Linked DNA regions of Homo sapiens: region 1 is linked to region 2. Evidence: promoter capture Hi-C in human tissues and cell types (Jung and others, 2019). All regions are on one chromosome and are shown on one strand. The core of a region is centred on a gene start or on the middle of the fragment in contact, and the rest is flanking DNA. Distances in the headings are between cores, read along the strand shown. Region 1 holds the start of HSPB6 (heat shock protein family B (small) member 6). Region 2 holds the start of HPN (hepsin).

The links. Contacts are between HindIII fragments. The study calls those that stand out against the background at their distance.
Region 1: a contact is called between the fragment with the promoter of HSPB6 here and the fragment with the promoter of HPN in region 2, in 1 of the 25 tissues and cell types used here (spleen).

What each region holds. Positions count from the first base shown.
Region 1 is chr19:35,753,536-35,758,839 of GRCh38, forward strand. It overlaps HSPB6 (heat shock protein family B (small) member 6), which reads right to left and starts at 3,494. Exons shown (of 3, transcript NM_144617.3): 1 at 3,276-3,494; 2 at 2,237-2,359; 3 at 1,031-2,148. The coding sequence starts at 3,473. The coding sequence ends at 1,987. PROSER3 (proline and serine rich 3) reads left to right here and starts at 4,641. Exons shown (of 11, transcript NM_001367856.1): 1 at 4,641-4,691. The coding sequence starts at 4,681. LIN37 (lin-37 DREAM MuvB core complex component) reads left to right here. Exons shown (of 9, transcript NM_019104.3): 7 at 482-622; 8 at 711-784; 9 at 858-984. The coding sequence ends at 939. RefSeq lists enhancers at 3,746-4,317, 4,646-4,885, 4,926-4,985. The HindIII fragment of the contact is 17,144 bases long and covers 1-5,304 here.
Region 2 is chr19:35,040,471-35,046,300 of GRCh38, forward strand. HPN (hepsin) reads left to right here and starts at 1,251. Exons shown (of 13, transcript NM_001384133.1): 1 at 1,251-1,402; 2 at 1,983-2,052. The coding sequence starts at 2,037. RefSeq lists an enhancer at 1-722. The HindIII fragment of the contact is 10,578 bases long and covers 1-5,830 here.

The DNA of each region.
Region 1 (5,304 bases), core at 2,244-4,743, 720 kb after region 2:
GCTAGACAAGGGTCCTTAGTACAGACAGAAGTGGCCACCAGGCCTTGAGGAGCAGGGGCTGGGCAGGAATGGATGGGAGTCTATAAGCCATCTGACCCAGCGGGGTAGACAAGGGTCCCCAGGACAGACATATAGGACCCTTCAGACATATAGGACTGTCAGAAATGGACAGAGCTTCCTAGGTGGCACAGACGTGACCCCCTAGACAGGATTCCCTGAGGCAGGCAGACGCGACTCCCTGGGCTGACAGGTGTAGATGGAGTCTCTGGGCTGGATAGGAGAAGACAGGGGTCCCTGGGGCAGGCACACTTGACCCGCTGGCTGGTTGAGGTGTCTGCCCTTCATACATGCCTCCTGTCTGAGTCCCTTAGCGAGCCCCTCATGCCATTTGTTGCTGGGAAAGGCAGGAGGGATGAATGTGGATTCCCAGCCCCTCTGCTTTGACTCTCTTGGGCCTGGCATGGGGCCCTTGTGTCCCCAGGGCTCAGAGGTAACCAACAGCAAGAGTCGTGATGTGTACAAGCTGCCGCCACCCACACCCCCGGGGCCACCCGGAGATGCCTGCAGATCCCGCATCCCATCTCCACTGCAGCCTGAGATGCAGGGCACCCCTGACGATGAGGTGAGTATGCCAGGCTGGCCCAGGGTTATGGGGCACATGCGGTAGGGCTCAGGAATGGCCACTCAACCTGGCCTGTCTGTCCATGCAGCCCTCTGAGCCCGAGCCCTCACCCTCCACACTCATCTATCGCAACATGCAGCGCTGGAAACGCATCCGCCAGAGGTGAGCGTCCCCCAGCCTGCTTGCCCCTCGTAGGGCCCTTTGCAACTGCTGAGTCTCCCCTCTGCCTCCCCAGGTGGAAGGAGGCCTCTCATCGGAACCAGCTTCGTTACTCAGAAAGCATGAAGATCCTACGAGAGATGTACGAACGACAGTGATGTTCCCAGGTCCCCCCACACCAGTAAACATCCCCCAGCTCCACACTGGTGTCTGCTCCGGTCCCTCCTTCCTGGCCCAGGCACAAAGCAGTTGGCAGAGCTCTAGCACATTTATTGGGAGAGTAAGCCTGGGAAAGACTAAGGGAGTGGTGGCAGGGAGAAAGGCTGTGGGGAATCAGAGCGGGTGCTCAGTTGGGTCTTGAAGGAGAAGAGGAGGAGGGTGGGAGGTGGGTTGCCGAGGATATCTGGTTGAAGACTTGGGGGTCAAGACAAAGGGACTTAGGGGGATGGGGTCTGGTTAGAGTTGGGGAGGGGGCCTAGGACATCCGTGCAGAGTCTGGGGAGGTTGGGGTGGGAGAGTCTGTACAGTTTGGTGTTGGGTGTTCTAGTTGGCCTGGTGTCCAAGAGTTGGGGCAGTCGAAAAAGGGTTCCAGAGTCTGGTGTGGCTGGCTGGGGTTTCACGGCAGAAAATGGGCTGGAGGGGGCAGTTGTAGACTGTCTGGTTGCAGGGGAAGGATCGGGTCTTGGGAACCAGGCCTGGATGGTCTGGAGTGGGAGGTCTGTGCAGTCCAGGACGTTTGGGGGGTGGGGGGATTGTGCCTGACTGGCCTGGGGTTGGGGGAGGGCTGTCTACACCATAATTTGGTGTCAAAATAGGGAAGGGATGGAAATGTAGTACCCGGATGTCTTTGTAGAGGACTCAGAAGGAAGTAGAGGAGGGGTCTTAAGTGGGGCTATATGCCAAGAAAGTGGGTCGGTGGGGCTGAGACTGTCGGCTGAGGGTTAGGGTAGTGCTGGTAGGGTCTGGAAGCCGGGGAGTTGTCGGTGTGGGGTCGGAAAGCTGGAGGGGGTGTGAGAGCGAGGGTGTCAGTGGAAGGGTCTATGTTATCAAGGCAGTGTCCAGGATGGAGGTCAGGGCAGAATCCAGGAGTGGGTGAGAGGACAGTCCTTGGCGCACTCGGGACATCTGGCTGGGCGGAGTCAGATCGGCTTTAATAGAGGGAGCCTGAGGAGGCTCCCGGGGTGCGGGCGCGGCCCAGCCCCCTCCTACTTGGCTGCGGCTGGCGGTGGGGCCTGGGCCGACGCTGGTGCGGCCTGGATGGACAGGACGCCCTCGGGGGACAGCGCGGACGTCACGGCAGCCGGATCCACGCCAGGCGGCAGGCGGTAGCGACGGTGGAACTCGCGCGCGACGAATCCGTGCTCATCCTGGAGGGGAGGGAGGCTTGAGCGGCCCCGCCCCTCCGGCCCGGCGGCGAGCGTACCCGCTCCAGCCCCGCCCCACGCCGCGGCTCACCGGGCGCTCCTCGTGGCGCGCGTGCACCTCCACGTGTTCGCCCACCACCTTGACAGCAATTTCCTCCGGCGAGAAGTGCTTCACGTCTAGCAGCACCGAAAAGTGGCCGGGGTCCGTCGGCACCTGAGCGCAGCGGGCGCGGGCGGGACTGTCATTGGGCTGGGCCAGGCTCCAGGACCCACCCAGGGAGACCCCACCCCCGTCGGTTCCGTGCCGCGGCTCACTCTGGCCTCCGGAGTTGAGCAGTCAGCTCTCCTACTGGGAGTCACCCAGGACCTCTTCACCCTGAACAACAGGGATACGCCCTCCCCCTGTAATATCTGGGATTGCCCTCTCCCCCGCAGTGATGAGGCTCCCTTCCCCTGCAAGGTCAGGAACCTCTGCCCTCCCCCGGTGTCAGCGAATCCGAAGTCATCGTGCCCCCCAGGGCACTGATTCCCCAGCTCCCTCCTCAGAGCCCCGGGTCCCTTCTCCGCCAGCCCCGCCAAACTCGCCAAGATGCCCCTTTCCCCGTCTCCAGGGTCCTCTGCCTACTCTCCCACTCGAGTCACGGGACCTCGGCAGCTACTGGTAGCCTTCCCCCACTTCAGAGTGGCCGGGAACCCTTCCTCAAGTCGCAGGGCCCTCTCCCCTCCTCTTCTGGAGATATCGGGCCACCGCACACAGTCTCTCAACTCTTCCCCGAGACTAAGAACATTCCTTCCCCTCAGGAGTCACTGCCCGCCTCCTTTTCCCCAGATTTCCCGGATCACCAGCCTCCTTCAGAGTAAGCAAGACTCCCCTTAGAGTGACCCAGGCCTTCCATTCTCTGGAGAGCTGAGAGCCCCCCACCCCGCCCCCCACCTAAGAGCGACGGGGACCTCCCACCCGCTGCAGTGTGCGGGCCTCAGATTCCCATTGACTCCGGAAGCCCTTCGGAGCTGCGGACTCTCCACCCCGCCCAAGGCCAACGAACATTCTCTCACATGTTCCCACCCCAGGCTGCCCCAGACCCCTGGCAATGGAAGTGGTCGAGTTCACCCCTCCCCAGGCCTGGCACCTGGGCGACGGGCAGCGCCACGCTGGGTGCGCGCAGGTAGTAGGGGGCGAGCGTGGTGGGGCAGAGCGCAGCCAGCTCGGCCTCCAGCAGCCCCTCGCCGAAGCGCTGGTCAAAGAGGCGTCCGGGCGCCGAAAGTCCGGGCAACGGGGCCGAGGCGCGGCGCAGCCAAGACGGCTGCACAGGCACAGGGATCTCCATCCTGCTCCTCCGCGTTGCAGTGCCCCTGCGTGCGCAGCCGCTCATTTATAGTGCGCCCTGTGCCGGCCCCTCGGAGGGCTGCCCAGGGACACTGGGACCGTGGCCAGACCCGGCCATTAGGAGAGCCTTATTTAGAAACCCAAACAATGACTTGGCCATTTATTAAGCGCCTGCTGGATGCCTGGCAAATGCTGTCAAGAAGGTGACATGAAGATTCCCCAATTTCCAGAAGAGGAAACTAAGGCTGAGGAGGGGGAGCCTTGCGGGTGTGGGGAGCACAGCGTGGTGATTGGGGCCCAGGACCCAAGAGGCCCACGGAAGAGTTTCCAGTCCCTTTAATCCACTGCCTCCCCCCTGGCAGCTCTGAGGATGACGCAGATGGAGGTCTTTAGGAGCAGATTCCTGGAGAATGCGGTAGCCCCGCCAGGATGTCAGGAGGACATAGAACAGGCCCTCCCTACCCTTATCCTCAGCCAGACCTTGGGCCCAGTCCCCCGGCAGGCCGGGCCTAATTCTGTGCCTCTGACTCAGCCTCTGGTGCGCAGAGGCCAGGGGGCGCGAGCATGAACAGTTCAGGCTGGCCCCCCGGGGGCCGCGCGCTGGGGCTGGAAATAGCTCATTTTGATCCCGCTACCTCGGCCAGGAGCCCAGACCTGGCAACTGATGCAACCAGCTGCTCCTGCAGCAAGAAAGAAGTTAGATGACCGTTGGGACGGACTGATTGGCCCAACTGATGGAGGAATAGCGGTTAGAGAGAGGGCAGAGCGCGCCCCCCCCCCAACCCGCCCCACTGCCCCTGCAACAGAAAGAATGGTAGTTAGACCGGGGTCGGGACAGGACTTCTGCAGCAAGAAGGCGCTTAAAAAGCGGGACTTTTAAGCGAGGGTACTTTAGATCACCTCCTAACCGCAAGCCCAGCCTCAGATCCTTCCCATTGGTGCACGGTCTTGCCAATTACTGCTACACTCGGCAGGTTCTCCAATCAAACACGCCCTGTCGGGCAGGCAGTCGTCCCAGCCAATCCTGAAACACCTCCCTCCGGGTACTTCTGTTTCCTCTCTTTCATTGGTCGCCTTGGAGGCCGCTCGCCTCCGGCGCGGGCACAGAGAGGGGCGGGGCTGATAGGGCGTTGCTAAGCGACGGAGATGCGCGCGGGGCCTGTTGGGTGAAGGAGCAGAGCGGCCGGAAGCGCGGAGGGAGCCGCGGGATGGACCGCAGGTGAGGCCGATCGCTCTTCCAGGGACTACAGGAGGCTGGGGAGGACCAACGGCGAGAGCAGCACAGCCTAGGACGGGCTGGATACGGTCTGGAGTCGCTAGGGCTCCACCGCACTGGAACTACAATTCCCAACATGCTCCACAGCCGTTGGCCTCTCCAGCCGTAGCCGTTAGCATCCCGGGGGTCCCCTAAGAGTCTTATGTTCCTCTCTGAGTGGGCCCCAAGGAATTATTGCCTCTAAAGGTGTCCAAGAAAGGCTTGAGATCTGAATTTCTTCATTTTGAAATGGCCCCCAGACACGCCTGGGCGTTGTCTTTGAACTTTCTCGCGGAGGCGGAGCCCAGTGGATCCTGGGGCTTGTAGTCCATCTACCCTTTGCCTTCGTGTCCCCCAGGAATGTATGGGAAATGCTCGGTGATATAATCCAGCCGCGGTTCTTTCTTTCTTTCTTTTTTTTTAAGACAGAGTCTCTCGCTCTGTTGGCCCAGACTGGAGTGCAGTGGCACAATCTTGGCTACTGCAACCTCTGCCCCCGGGTTAAAGCAATTCTCATGCCTCAGCCTCCCAGGTAGCTGGGACTACAGGCACCTGCCACCGCGCCTGGCTAATTTTT
Region 2 (5,830 bases), core at 1-2,500:
CCCGTCACCTTCCCCCCATTCCCGTCCCCGAATCTTCGAGCCCGCTTTCCAGGGACCCTACCTGAGGGCCCACAGGTGAAGCCACTTAGTGCCTGATCTGTGTCGGGGTTGGGGGAGCCATGGGCTCAGGGGTGAGGGAGAGTGGAACGGAGCCAGGAAGGGAGGGGGTGCCGTGGAGGGAAGAGAATCGAGGCTGATGCTGGGGTGCAGGGGTGGCATGGGGTGTGTGGTGTGCCCAGCAGTGTGAGTCTCTGGAGAGGTGGGCGCTGGGGAGAAGGAGAGGGAAGGAGAGACGGGTATGGATGGAAAGGCAGAGGAAGCCAGGCTAAACCAGCGTGTCCCAATGAGGGGCCCTGGGCTGAGTGGAGGAAATGGGTGCGGTGGAGGTGGGTTTGGCTGGGCACAGCGGGCACGTGTGGGTAAGCGGGTGGGGCCGGTTGTGCGGGTGGCCTATCTGGGGCAAGCAGCCGAGGCCGACTGTGTCCGGCGTGTGGTTGAGCACGGGCAGGTGTCTGGCGGTGACCCTGCACGTCTGGTGTTTACCTGGCCCTGGGTCTGACGTGGGCCGCGCCTGGCTGCTGGCGGGACAGTGTGTTATCTGCCTGCGGACGCTTCCGGCCACTTGGCCTGGGCCTCTGCCCTTAGCGCTGTGTTTTCCCGGCCAAGCCCCCCATCCCCCCTATCTAGTGCTAGGACTTTCTGGCTCCAGAGGTCACCGCGGCCGGGCGGAGGCTGCCAAAGCAAACCAGCCCCGTGACTTGTAGGAAGCCAGCGGGGGAGGGGCCGGGGCAGGATGAGCAGGGCAGGCGGGAGAGGCTGGGGCTGGGGTTGGGGCCCAGGAATTGGGCAGGGAATTAGGCAGAGGTGCAGCAAGTGGCGGGCACAGCCAGGACCTGGGGCTGGAGGACGCAGAAAGGGCGGGGGGAAGGGTTCGCTGGGTGAGGGTGGAGTGGGCTTAGGGCAGCTGGGGCCCTCCATCTGATCTCTTCTGGTCAGACCCCCACCCTTCAGCCTGCACTTTCTCCCTAAACCCCCAGCCTCCGGCCAGGCCTGTCCCTGTTCCCACATCCCCGCAGACAGGCACACCTGGGTCCCCCTGGAGGTCCAAGGCAAGCCCCGTAGCTGGGCCCGCCTGGTCCAGCCCCCACAAGCCCGGCCCCATCAGCCAGGTGGCCTCCAGTGCTGCCAATCGAATGGTCCGGCCCCTCCCCGCCCCTTCACCCGCCCCTCGCCCAGCCCCCTCCTCCTCAGGTGAGGCAGCCTGGCCTAGCAGGCCCCACGCCACCGCCTCTGCCTCCAGGCCGCCCGCTGCTGCGGGGCCACCATGCTCCTGCCCAGGCCTGGAGACTGACCCGACCCCGGCACTACCTCGAGGCTCCGCCCCCACCTGCTGGACCCCAGGGTAAGGACAAGGGCCCCCAGACTCACAGTTCCAGCCCTGAGGACAGGGGTTCCCTCATCCCCCCACCCAGCCTAATGCCCACCTCCTAATAGAGGGGTTCCTGGGGACCTGAAGAGGGGGCACTATGACGTCCCCCCAAGCACCTAGGTGTTCTGTCCTGCTCTTCCTTCAGACTCAGCCGTTGGACCCCAGTCCTTTCCTCCCCAGACCCAGGAGTTCCAGCCCTCAGGCCCCTCCTCCCTCATACTAGGGAGTCCTGGCCCCCAAATTCCTCCTTTCCCAAGACTTATGATTTCAGGTCCTCAGCTGTCTCCTCCCTCAAACCGGGATCCTCAGTCCCCTGCTCCACCAGGCTCAGGCATGGGGGTCCCCATCCCTGCAAATCCAGGCGTCCCCCCGCTGCTGGTCAGACACTGACCCCATCCTTGAACCCAGCCCAATCTGCGTCCGTGATCACGGCGTGCTCTGGCCAAGGCCCAGTCCCTACAGCCTGCCTGGATGGACGCCTGGGACTGGGGGCGCCAGGACTGGGCTGGGCTGGGCTCCCCCAGGCCCTGCCTCCCCGTCCATCTCCTCACAGGTCCCACCCTGGCCCAGGAGGTCAGCCAGGGAATCATTAACAAGAGGCAGTGACATGGCGCAGAAGGAGGGTGAGTCCCCTTCCCTGAGCCCCAGCTTTGGCTCTGCCTGGCGCCCCGCCCTCTGTGCTCTTTTCTCTACCCTCTACTCTTCGGAGCCCCCTCTCTCTGGGCACCCCTCCCAGATGCATCCCCACCCCTGTTAGTCCTCCTCCACCTGATTAACTATTAACCACATTTTCTGTGCAGCTGTGCCACCACCAGCCTCCCTTCTACCCTATGTGACCTTCCTGGCGTGCTGCCTCAGTTTCCCCTCATCCCCCAGTGATTTCTCAGCTAACTCTGGACTTGTCCTCTGCTGGGGCTGAGGCGGGGAAGCTGTAGCTGTCATGGTTAAGGACACAGATTTGGAGTGAAACACACAGGCTTGCATTTGAATTTGCTCTTGCCATCTTTTTTGCTGTGTGATCTGGTGCAAGTGACATTATTCTTAGGGCTTTGGTCTCCCTCTGGGTCAAGCATGGATACCAGTCCTCCCTCTGTGAGGTTGCTGAGTGCATGACACACACCAGGCACTGGTCTGGGGCTCTGCATATAAGACGCATGCCATCAAGCAGAGCTGTCATGACAGAGGTTGGCAAACTCGGAGTCCCAGAGACCCAGGACCCCCACCGATCCCAGACATTCCTCCACCTCCTGGCTCTGTGGGCAAAAGAGCAGAGGGAGGACTTTGGACTGGGCCTGGATGGATGGAGAGGGGAGAGACGGCAGAGAAACCACCATAAGGATGAGAGAGAGAGACTGCGTCATGGAGTTGCTGGCCCTTGGGAGTCTCTGGGCAGCCCCCAGCTAGCCTGGCTTCCTTTCTACCTCTCACACATGGGACCCAGCTGGAGGGGCGCATGGAGGGGCGTCCTGTTCTTTCTGCCTTCCCCTAGCTGGGGCTGACTCCCTCTCTTCTTCCGCAACCAGGATAGCCGGGCTCAGTCCTGGGCAGTAGCACTTTCTAGCTGTGTGGCCCTGGGCAGACGGCGTGTTCTCCCTGGGCCTCCATTCTCTCATCTGTGAAATGGAGAGGGTGACAGTGCATGTCCAACAGCGTGGGGCGAGGCCTGAAATGCCAGGATGGGCAGGAAGCACTGAGCGTGTTGGCTGAAATGATTAGTTCAGATCTCTGGCCTCCTCGGGTCTCGGCACAGCTGGCAATTCAGACCCCAAACCAATCAGCTGCAGTCCAGAGGGAACCCAGGCTCCCAGTTACTCAGGAGAAGGCATTGCACCCTAGCCGAGCAGGTGGATGACAGAATCCAGCTCCTTGGGGACAATCTCTTTCCTGGAGCTGCCGGAAGGACAGCCCCAGGGCTTGGGCCCATGGGTGAATGAGCCAGGGAAGAAAAGCAGAAAATGCCCGAATGGACAGAGATGGCCTGGGTACAAAGAGAAACAGACACAAAGTGGGCTCTGGTGCCTCCCTGGCAGCTCCGGGCTGGTCTTGGAGGGGAGTCCTGCTGTCAGGGCTAGGGGTGTGGAGGTCGAACCTGGACACAGATGCTGAAGGGTTCCGATTCTGCACTTACTTGCCGGGTGACCCGGGTTTGGTGGCTGCCGGACTTTGGGCCTCCTTTTCTCATCTGTAAACTGGGGGTGATGGCAATGGCGCCTTCCTCGTGAACAGCTGCAAGGATTTAAGTAAGGATGCTGTGCAGGACTGGACGGGGTTAGGGTAGGGCGGTGCGTCCGTGTGTGATTCAGAGAGCCGTTGTGGCTGCAGCGGCTGCTGTTGTTGGTGTCACTGTTATTGCTGCTGGCTTCTTGGTGCTGCCTGGAAACTTGGAATTGGAGGAGGTGATACTGGAGTTGCAATTCCAAGGATGCCAGGCAGAGGGAAGAGCAAGGCTCTTGCTCTTCTCTGGGAAGCTGGGAGGTGACACAGCACTGGTGTGCACGTAGCCAATTGTGGTATTTCTGGAGGTGAAGCTGGAAGTTGAGCTGGGTGGGAGAAGAGGTGTGCAAGCTGGACCAGGCAGGGGTGGGACTGTTTTGGGGAAGAGCTGGCCAATTCCTTGCAGTACCAGGTCTCTCCACAAGGTGGCGCCAGTGGTTAGTCCCTGCTTCTCTTGTCTAACTTGTATTTTACAAGTTCTACTGTTTGGGTTGCTTTTTGGAAGCTCTCTCTGGTACCTGATAGTGACCCACATGGTTGTCTGAGAATTGGGGGAAACATACTCCCAAATCTCTGAAAGCCATGCTTATACCCTAGTGGGGCTGGAAATGCCAGGCTGAGGGACTTAAGCTGTCTGGGGGGTACTAGGGAGTCACAGAGGGTTCTATAGGTAAAGAGGGGACAGGTTGGATTTGGTGTCTCAGTAGGTTCCCCAAGCCTCCGTGTGGAGGGTGCGCTAGAAGGGAGACTGAGCCCAGCGGTTGGATGGGGCCGGAGCAAGGTGCAGATGGAGAGAAAGAAGGAAACGGGGGAAGGAGAGTCACTCAGGAGGATTGGCAGGCTGTCGGGGGAGGGGAATGTTATGCAGATGGGGATGGTCCTAGGAGTGAGGGCCTCTGAGACAGGACCGGGAGGAAGAATATACTTGGGGAGACATTGGGGAGACATTCTGGGACCTGGTAGGGGCAAAGGGACTAGGAGGTCCCAGGGAAAGGTATTTAAAAGGTATTTAAAGGACTGCAGGAGCCCTGACCTGGGACCTGGAAGAGGGTCTAGGGCTGGGGACAGAGGGGAAACTGAGTCCACAGAGGTGGGTGAGACAGACTTAGGGGCAAGGAGGAGCAGGGGGAGGCTGCGGCCAGCCCTACAAACTCTGGATTTTACGGAGTAGGTAGAGGGTGGGTGAAGACAGCAGCCTCAGAGGCGGGAAGGAAAATCAGGTGCGCCTGGTGTCCCAGAAGTCCAAAGAGGAGAGCATTTATACAGGAAGCTGCAGTCATGTAAGATGAGGCCCGAGACACGGAGCCACCAGTTGAGTGGATTTTCAGAGCCAGAGAGCCAAAGGTGTTACGCGTGGGGGTCTTTGCAGCCAAATGGTGGAGGCGGAAGAACTGACCTATGAGAAGACCCAAGGCATCCAGAGGGGCCTGGAGAAGCAGGGGCAGAGAGTCTCAGGGAGATGTAGGGGTGGGGGAGGTCTGGCTTACCAAGGGAAATAGCCCTGCTGCTGGGATCAAAGAATTGATGTTGACGTGCCGCCTGTCCCAGTAGAGACACGCAGGGAGGATGAGGATGCGTCCCACACCCTGGGCCAGATGAGGATGCTGCCTGTCCCAGTAGAGACACGCAGGGAGGATGAGGATGCGTCCCACACCGTGGGCCAGATGAGGATGCTGCCTGTCCCAGTAGAGACATGCAGGGAGGATGCCTCTCATACTGGGGGAACCCCAGGATGCAGATGCTTCCTGTCCCACTGGAGGCGCTGAAGTCCTCTGAACCACACAGCATGGAAGGAGGTTCTTCCTCTCACCCTAGGAGACACATACATAGTGGCATTGCTTCCTGTCCCACCAGATGTGCCAAGGCCTCTAGGCTGCATTCTGCATGGCCTAGAGCCCTGGCAGGCACAGCTGAAAACAAAGCAAGCAAGACCAGCCCAGTGGCTGTCGGGAGCCAAGACCTCCTGCTGGAACCTGGAGAGTGGTCCTGGGCAGAGTTGGGGGGCAGGCCTGAGAACCCCTCGCAGGACAGGCAGGGGTCAGCCGGCAGTAGTTGGGCTGGTCTGGCCCACTGGGGCCTCTTTTGGGGAAGAGAGTGTTTCCTCATGCCTTGATGGGAGCCACTGAGCTTTCAATTTTTTTTTTTTTTTAATACAGAGTCTCGCTCTGTTGCCCAGGCTAGAGTACA